Regions from separate parts of the Homo sapiens genome. Here region 1 is linked to region 2. Evidence: promoter capture Hi-C in 16 types of primary human blood cells and fetal thymus (Javierre and others, 2016). All regions are on one chromosome and are shown on one strand. The core of a region is centred on a gene start or on the middle of the fragment in contact, and the rest is flanking DNA. Distances in the headings are between cores, read along the strand shown.

Evidence for each region. Contacts are between HindIII fragments. The CHiCAGO score rates a contact against its expected background, and 5 or more counts as called.
Region 1: a fragment that was not itself captured here is called in contact with the fragment with the promoter of PABPC1 in region 2 in 1 of 17 cell types (neutrophils); the score reaches 5.5 in neutrophils.

What each region holds. Positions count from the first base shown.
Region 1 is chr8:94,815,333-94,819,787 of GRCh38, reverse strand. No RefSeq gene overlaps it. Among named protein-coding and RNA genes, the nearest start is that of INTS8, 5.7 kb to the left of the region's middle. The HindIII fragment of the contact is 7,350 bases long and covers 1-4,455 here.
Region 2 is chr8:100,720,396-100,724,337 of GRCh38, reverse strand. It overlaps PABPC1 (poly(A) binding protein cytoplasmic 1), which reads left to right and starts at 2,250. Exons shown (of 15, transcript NM_002568.4): 1 at 2,250-2,947. The coding sequence starts at 2,755. RefSeq lists enhancers at 1,123-1,623, 1,624-2,124, 2,179-3,011 and silencers at 1,414-2,123, 2,204-2,283, 2,964-3,073. The HindIII fragment of the contact is 6,173 bases long and covers 1-3,942 here.

The sequences.
Region 1 (4,455 bases), core at 253-2,752, 5.9 Mb after region 2:
AAACCCCATCTCTACTAAAAAATACAAAATTAGCTGGGCTTGGTGGCACATGCCTGTAATCCCAGCTACTCAGGAGGCTGAGGCAGGAGAATCGCTTGAACCCGGGAGGCAGAGGTTGCGGTGAGCCGAGATCGCGCCATTGCACTCCAGCTTAGGCGACAAGAATGAAACTCTGTCTCAAAAAAAAAAAAATGTTAAAAATAGGCTTACCAGATGACTCAGCAATTCCCCTTCTAGGTATGTATCCAAGAGAAAGGAGAAAATGTACCCACACAAAGACTTGAATGTTTAGAACAGCAGTATCTACAGTAGCCTAAAAGTAGAAACCAAGGTCTATAACCTGGTGAATAGACAAATAAAATGTGACATACTCATTGTATCTGTTTCAAGTGGCTGCTGTAACAAATTACCACAAACTTTGTGGTTTAAAACAACAGAAACTGGCCGAGTGCAGTGGCTCACGCCTGTAATCCCAGCACTTTGGGAGGCTGAGGTGGAGAGTCCAGGAATTCAAGACGTATCTGGGCAGCATAGTGAGACTTCTGTCTCTACAAAAAAATCAAAATAAAAAATAAGGCTGGGATGGTGGTGTGCGTCTGTAGTCCTGGCTATGTGGGAAACTGAGGTGGGAGGATTGCTTGAGCCCAAGAGGATGAGGCTACAGTGAGCCGAGATTGCACCACTGCACTCAGGTGGGTGACAGAGTGAGACCCTGTCTCAAAAAAAAAAAAAAAAAGAAAAGAAAGAAAGAATGAGAACAGACTGTGGTCATTCAGACTTGGGTATTTAGCAGACATTTTCTTGAACAAAGTGAGCCTGTCATGTCACTTTATGGAAAACAACTAACACCATTTGTGGCGAATAATAACATTCAATTTTTTTTTTTTTTTTTTGAGATGGAGTTTTGCTCTTGCTGCCCAGGCTGGAGTGCAATGGTGCTATCACCGCTCACTGCAACCTCCACCTCTCAGGTTCAAGCGATTCTCCTGCCTCAGCCTCCCGAATAGCTGGGATTACAGGCACTGCCACCACCACACCTGGCTAATTTTTCTATTTTTAGTAGAGATGGGGTTTCACCATGTTGGCCAGACTGGTCTTGAACTCCTGACCTCAAGTGATCCTCCCACCTTGGCCTCCCAAAGTGCTGGGATTACAGACATGAGCCACCGCTCCTGGCCAACATTCAACTTTTTAAGTAAAATTAGAATTTTAGAAAACTGTAAACTTGGCAGCTTCCCAATACTTGACAAGACTTTTCTGATGACACCAATGGCGATATTAACAAATGTATATTTAAATGTGTCAACTTTCAGATGATCATCACAACTTGACAAATCAATCAATATTTTCCTAATATATGGCTAAAAGATTTATTTAAATTCCAAGACAAGCCGAGCACAGTGGCTCATGCCTGTAATCCCAACACTTTGGGAGGCAGGGGCAGGATGATCACTTGAAACCAGGAGTTGGAGACTGCAGCGAGCTATGATCATGCCACTGTACTCCAGTCTGGGTGACAGAGCGAGACCCTGCCTCTTAAAAGTAAATAAATAAAAAATTTCAGCTGGGCACGGTGGCTCATGCCTGTAATCCCAGCACTTTGGGAGGCCGAGGTGGGAGGATGACGAGGTCAGGAGTTTGGACCAGCCTGGCCAACGTGATCAAACCCTGTCTCTATTAAAAATACAAAAATTAGCTGGCATGGTGGCAGGTGCCTGTAATCCTAGCTACTCAGGAGTCTGAAGCAGGAGAATAGCTTGAACCCGGGAGGCAGAGGTTGCAGTGAGCAGAAATCGCATCACTGTACTCCAGCCTGGGCGACAGAGCAAGACTCCATCTCAAAACAAAACAAAACAAAAAATTTCAAGACAGACTGATGAATTGTAATGGAACGGAATTTGAAAAGTTAATTGGTATGATTTCAGATTTAAAATTGCAGCTAATCTTTAAGAAACAACCACTTTCTCAGGTTTTGGTGAAGAAAGTCCATAATTATCCGAAAAGATATAAAATACTTCTTTTTTTAACTACTCATCTATGTGAGCAATGCCACTCTTCTAGTTTTTAAAATGAAAATAGTTATTTTATATAAAATTGTATTTGTCAGCATGTAATAGGATTATTTTTATTTTTATATGATTATTTTATTTTAATTTAAATAAATTAAATATTTTTAAAACTTCTCAGTGTTAATTTTTAATATGGTAAATATAAACAAACACTCTTTTAAGTGCTTAATAATTTTTTGGTCTAACAGGGCCCTGAGACTAAAAAATCTGAGAAACTATTTTATTGAGGCATGCACATCAAAATCCTACTGTGTTTGGCTCTGAAGAGAAGAGGGAAGGAGGATAGAACAGGGGTGGGTTAGAGAAGGGGAGAGGAGAGGTGAATGGGGGGAAGGAGTGGGGGAGGGGGGTCACAGGTACTTCAACTTTATCTGTATTTTTTTTTTTTGAGACAGAGTCTTGCTCTGTTGCCCAGGCTGGAGTGCAATGGTGCGCTCTTGGCTCGCTGCAACCTCCACCTCCCAGGTTCAAGTGATTCTCCTACCTCAGCCTCCAGAGTAGCTGGGATTACAGGCACGCCACCATGCCTGGCTAATTTTTGTATTTTTAGTAGAGACAGGTTACACTATGTCGACCGGGCTGGTCTCGAACTCCTGACCTCAGGTGATCTACCCGCCTCAGCCTCCCAAAGTGCTGGGATTACAGACGTGAGCCACCGCACCCCGTTCTGGTTTTTGTTTGTTTGTTTTGTGATGGTATCTCTCTGTTGCCCAGGCTGGAGTGCAGTGGCATTTAGCTCACTGCCTCCTTGACATCCTGGGTTCAAGTGATCCTTCTGCCTCAGCCTCCTGAGTAGCTGGGACCACAGATGAATACCACCATGCCCAGCTAATTTATTTATTTTTTTGCAGAGATAGGGTCTTGCTATGTTGCCCACCCAGGCTGATCTGGAGCTCTTGGGCTCCAGTGATCCTCCCACGTTGGCCTCCCAAAGTGCTGGAATTACAGGTGTAAGCCACTGTGCCCAGCCATATATAGATGCTTTTAAAGTCCCTGATATTTCCTCAAAACCCATGAAAAATTCTATGGGCTCATAGAAACAAACTATTATGGAGCATTTGTTACATACCATGACCCAAATTAGGGCCTTTATATCCTCGTTTTCTCATTTGATCTTTCAACATCCTAGAAAGTAGGAATTATGAGCTCACCTTACAGCTGAAGAAGCTGAGGATCAGAGAAGTTATTGTTCTTAATTTTTTTTCTGTGGATTTACAACTATTTAAAAAACAAAAAATCAATAGCACACAAATTTGGTGGAACTTTTATTATAATTGCACCAAATCTATAGATAAACTTGATAATACAGTAATGAGACTCCTTATCTAGGAGCAGAATAAGTAGATCAGTAGCTTCGTCAAAGTCTCCCAGAGAATAAATGTTAGAACCAGGGTTTGGTCCCTGATATGACCTTCGTTAAATTGAACCACTGCTATGGTCTGAATGTTTGTGTTCCCCCCACATTCATGTGTTGAAAACTAGACCATGCATGGTGGCTCACGCCTGTAATCCCAGCACTTTGGGAGGCCGAGGCGGGCGGATCACCTGAGGTAAGGAGTTCAAGACCAGCCTGGCCAACATGGTGAAACCCTGTCTACTAAAAATACAACTATCAGCCAGGCGTGGGCATGGGCGCCTGTAATCCCAGCTACTTGGGAGGCTGAGTAATGAGAATCGCTTGAACCCAGGAGGCGGACGTTGCAGTGAGCCGAAATCGCACCACTGCACTTTTGCCTGGGCGACAAGAGCGAGATTCCATCTCAAAAAAAAAAAAAAAAAAAAGAAAAGAAAAGAAAAGAAAAAGGAAAGCAAACTAACCCCCAAGGTTAGAAGGGAGGGGCCTCCTTTGGGAAGTGATTAGATCATGAGGGCAAGATCGCATGTGGAAGACCTATATGAAGAAAATAATAAAAATGTTATTCAAAAACATGAAGGATCTAAATAAATGGAGAGAAAAATTCTGCTCCTAGAGAGGGAGGCTGATTACTGTATTCTCAAATTTATCTACAGATTCAGTGAAATGATAATAAAAGTTCCATCAAATTTGTATGCTATTTGTTTATTTACTTATTTATTATTTTTTTAAGACAGAGTCTTGCTCTGTCACCCAGGCTGGAGTGCAGTGGCACAATCTCGGCTCACTGCAACCTCTGCCTCCCAGGTTCAAGCAATTCTCCTGCCTCAGCCTCCCAAGTAGCTGGGACTAACCACCACGCCCAGCTAATTTTTGTATTTGAGTAGAGATGGGGTTTCACCATGTTGGACAGGCTAGTCTCAAGCTCCTAACCTCAGGTCATCCGCCCTCTTCGGCCTCCCAAAGTGCTGGGATTACAGGCGAGGGCCACTGTGTCCAGCCGGTTTTTTTGTTTGTTTTTAAAAATAGTTG
Region 2 (3,942 bases), core at 1,001-3,500:
GGTATGGACTTTGCTTCTACTTTCCCTTGCACATACTCAACTGTACCTCCATAAAATATGACAATGACATCTACTAAGTGCAAGAGCCACAGCTGCATAGACGTCCTGATGACTGGCTCCCTTCCCAAACTATGTATTCACCTACAAAGCACTAATATACTTTTCTAGTGATGAGAATGCTTCCATTTACCATCCAGGGCATCACTGCCTGTCAAGCTGCCCTGGAAGCCTAACAACTGTTTATTTTTTATTTATTTGAGTCTCGTTCTGTCACCAGGCTGGAGTGCAGTGACGCAATCCTGGCTCACTGCAACCTCCGCCTCCCGGGTTCAAGCGATTCTCCTGCCTCAGGCTCCCGAGTAGCTGGGACTATAGGCGCGCGCCACCACGCCCAGCTAATTTTTGTATTTTTAGTAGAGACGGGGTTTCACCATGTTGGCCAGGATGGTCTCGATCTCTTGACCTCGTGATCTGCCCCCCTTGGCTTCTCAAAGTGCTGGGATTACAGGCGTGAGCCACCGCGCCTGGCTACTTTTTGTATTTTTAGTAGAGACGGGGTTTCACCATGTTGGCCAGGCTGGTCTCGAACTCCTGACCTCAAGTGATCAGCGTGCGTCAGCCTCCCAAAGTGCTGGAATTACAGGAGTGAGCCACCGCGCCCGGTCACATTTTATCCTCTTTTTAATAGGAGCAAAATAGTATTTATGTGGGATTCCACTGGTTTAAATTCTAATTAAATGAGACAAGATATAAAGTACTTAATTCCACACCTAGCAATACAGTTGACATCCATTAAAGTTTATTGAATTAAGGAATAAATTGGGCAATCATTTAACTTCTTTGAGACTGTTCCTGTAACAGTAAAGTAAAATTATTACTACTTGCTCCACCTCCCACACCAGATTGCTCTCAGGAACAAATGATAGTATGTTTACGCGAGTGCTTTAAAAACTGTAAAAGCACTTTACTACTTTCGAGTGGAATTTGTATGTTGATTTAATGTCATTCCTAGAGCCGGTTTTTATTACTATCAATTCGTTAAATTTAGCATTCCTATTAAAACCCACTACTAATGTGCAGAATTGTTTTAGTTATTTATAAGGACGTTGTTTTAGACTATTCCTAATTTTGTCTGGTTGCAGGGCTGTGGTGCCATATAGTAGTGATTGTGACAAACCCGTACTTTCAGGAAAAACATTCACTTTTCTCCACTCCTGGTTTCTATCGCCAAGAAATGTCTGGCAGAAGCAGCACAAATCAATGATTCCAGCCTAGCACCTTAAGGTAAGAAGTGACCAAAGACCCCCAACACAGCTATCCCAAATTAAAGCCACTTTGACCAACGACAACGTCCAGTGAAGACACGGAGGAGGGTCGGGCTGGAAAAGAAGAGGACGAGGAACCCGAGGGGCCCTCCCCTCTCTCTCCCTGCCCCCCAACCCCGCGCCGGGAGCTCCAGCGGTGCCGGGGTCCAGCGCGCAGGACGGTTGGGGGGTCCCGGAGCGGGCGGCCAGGACCCGCGCAGCCAGTTGGTGTCAGCGAGCGCCGCGGCCGTTGGGGACTCCAGCTCCCAGCAGGCACCGCTTCTGCGGCCGACGCGCGTGGCGGCGGTGCCGGCTGGGACTCGTAGTGCGGTCCGGGTAGGAGAGAGCAGGGGGCCACGCTGGCTCCATCTACGCACGTTTCGGAAACCGGGCCCGGAGGGGACCACGCCCGCTCACCCGTGCCCGGCGTCCCCCGGAGCTGGGGCTAGAGGAGCCGGGCCGGCCGCAGCGGGAAGAGGCCACAGGCGGCCGCGCACGTGGGGGGTGGTTAGCGCGGAGGAACCCGGAAGCCCTTTGCACCGCCCACCGCCGCGGTGACGGGTTAACGCTCCTCCTGGTGGAGGCAGGGGCGGGCGGGGCGGAAGGCGGGGACGCCTCAGCCAACACCCCCGAGGACCGCCCGCGAGCCGTCCTCCCCACCCCCACGGACGCGACGCAGCGCGGGCTCCGCTTCCCCGGCCGCGGCGCCTGCGCAAAAGCCCCGCCCCTTCGCCCGAGCCCCACCCCCACACCGCAGCCTCCACCGCCGCCACCTCTCCCTTCCTCTCTGCTCTTTCCTCCTGTTTTCTCTTCCCTCCTCCCCCTGGCCTCCGCGTCTCCTCCTACTCCGGCGCTGACGCTCGCGTAGGGGCCCTGGCGTCAGACGCGCGGGGGCGGGGCGAGTGCGGCGCGGGGTATAAGTAGAGGGTGCAGGAGGCGGTGCTTCCCCTTCTCCCCGGCGGTTAGTGCTGAGAGTGCGGAGTGTGTGCTCCGGGCTCGGAACACACATTTATTATTAAAAAATCCAAAAAAAATCTAAAAAAATCTTTTAAAAAACCCCAAAAAAATTTACAAAAAATCCGCGTCTCCCCCGCCGGAGACTTTTATTTTTTTTCTTCCTCTTTTATAAAATAACCCGGTGAAGCAGCCGAGACCGACCCGCCCGCCCGCGGCCCCGCAGCAGCTCCAAGAAGGAACCAAGAGACCGAGGCCTTCCCGCTGCCCGGACCCGACACCGCCACCCTCGCTCCCCGCCGGCAGCCGGCAGCCAGCGGCAGTGGATCGACCCCGTTCTGCGGCCGTTGAGTAGTTTTCAATTCCGGTTGATTTTTGTCCCTCTGCGCTTGCTCCCCGCTCCCCTCCCCCCGGCTCCGGCCCCCAGCCCCGGCACTCGCTCTCCTCCTCTCACGGAAAGGTCGCGGCCTGTGGCCCTGCGGGCAGCCGTGCCGAGATGAACCCCAGTGCCCCCAGCTACCCCATGGCCTCGCTCTACGTGGGGGACCTCCACCCCGACGTGACCGAGGCGATGCTCTACGAGAAGTTCAGCCCGGCCGGGCCCATCCTCTCCATCCGGGTCTGCAGGGACATGATCACCCGCCGCTCCTTGGGCTACGCGTATGTGAACTTCCAGCAGCCGGCGGACGGTGAGCGCCGGGCTCCGCGGTCGGCCGGGCGGGCGGGCGGCCATGAGGCTCGGGCGGCGGCGGCGGGCGGGGTAGGCCGGCGGGCCCGGGGAGGGGGGCGGGAGGGCATGTCACCCCGCGACGGCCGGCGGGAAGGCGCCGGGGTCCCTGGAGCCGCGTTTCCCGAGCCGGCGGGGACCCGCGCTGCCGGCAGCCACACGCCCGGCTACTTCCTCCTTTGCGACCATTTTCTCGGCCTCAGACGCTCTCAAACTTTAGGGTGATGACGCGCCGGGAGGGTGGGTGAGATTCGGTTCCTCCGCGGCGCTCCCGCCAGTGGCCCCGGGATTCTGGGGCGTTGAACGCTGAGCTCCTTCCGTGGGTAAGAGGTGGAGGCGCTCCCACCACCCGGAGCTCCTGCCGGCGCCCCAGCCTGGGGAGGAAGTGCAGTTCTGTGCTCGAAAAATACCACGTGTTGAACCCTGTAACCTCGCAGGCCCGAGGCCTGCTTCTGCTCCTGCTCCTGGCCCAGTCGCCTGGGGGAGCCACCAGGCCTTAGGATAAAGTTCCTGTGGCGATGTGTGGTGTGGTGGTGGTCCTCAGGCTTGTGAGTCCACTTCCCAGAACTCATCAGTGACTGATGGATCTAGGAATGGAATTTACCGGAGACATGCATTTGGGGTTTCCCCTAGATCAAGCATTTCTCTAACATTAAAAGGGCAGAGTGGGAGGAGGGGATGTGGCAGCCGACCACTTTGAAGGCCAGTTTTCTCAGGCAACTTAGACCATTTTTAGTCAAATTTTATCTTAGATTCACAGTACTGGTGGTTTTCGAGTATATTATGTTACCTTCTGAAATAGTTCCTGTCGTTTTGAGGGGCTTTTCTTTATAAAATAGTCAACTTTGGCTATAAAATGTTACTTTAGTGTAATTCCAACTGGACCAGTCTTATCTGTAGCATGCAAGAAGTTCAAGTTTCTCTTTTATTTTTAAAAGTGGCCCATGATACCTGTAA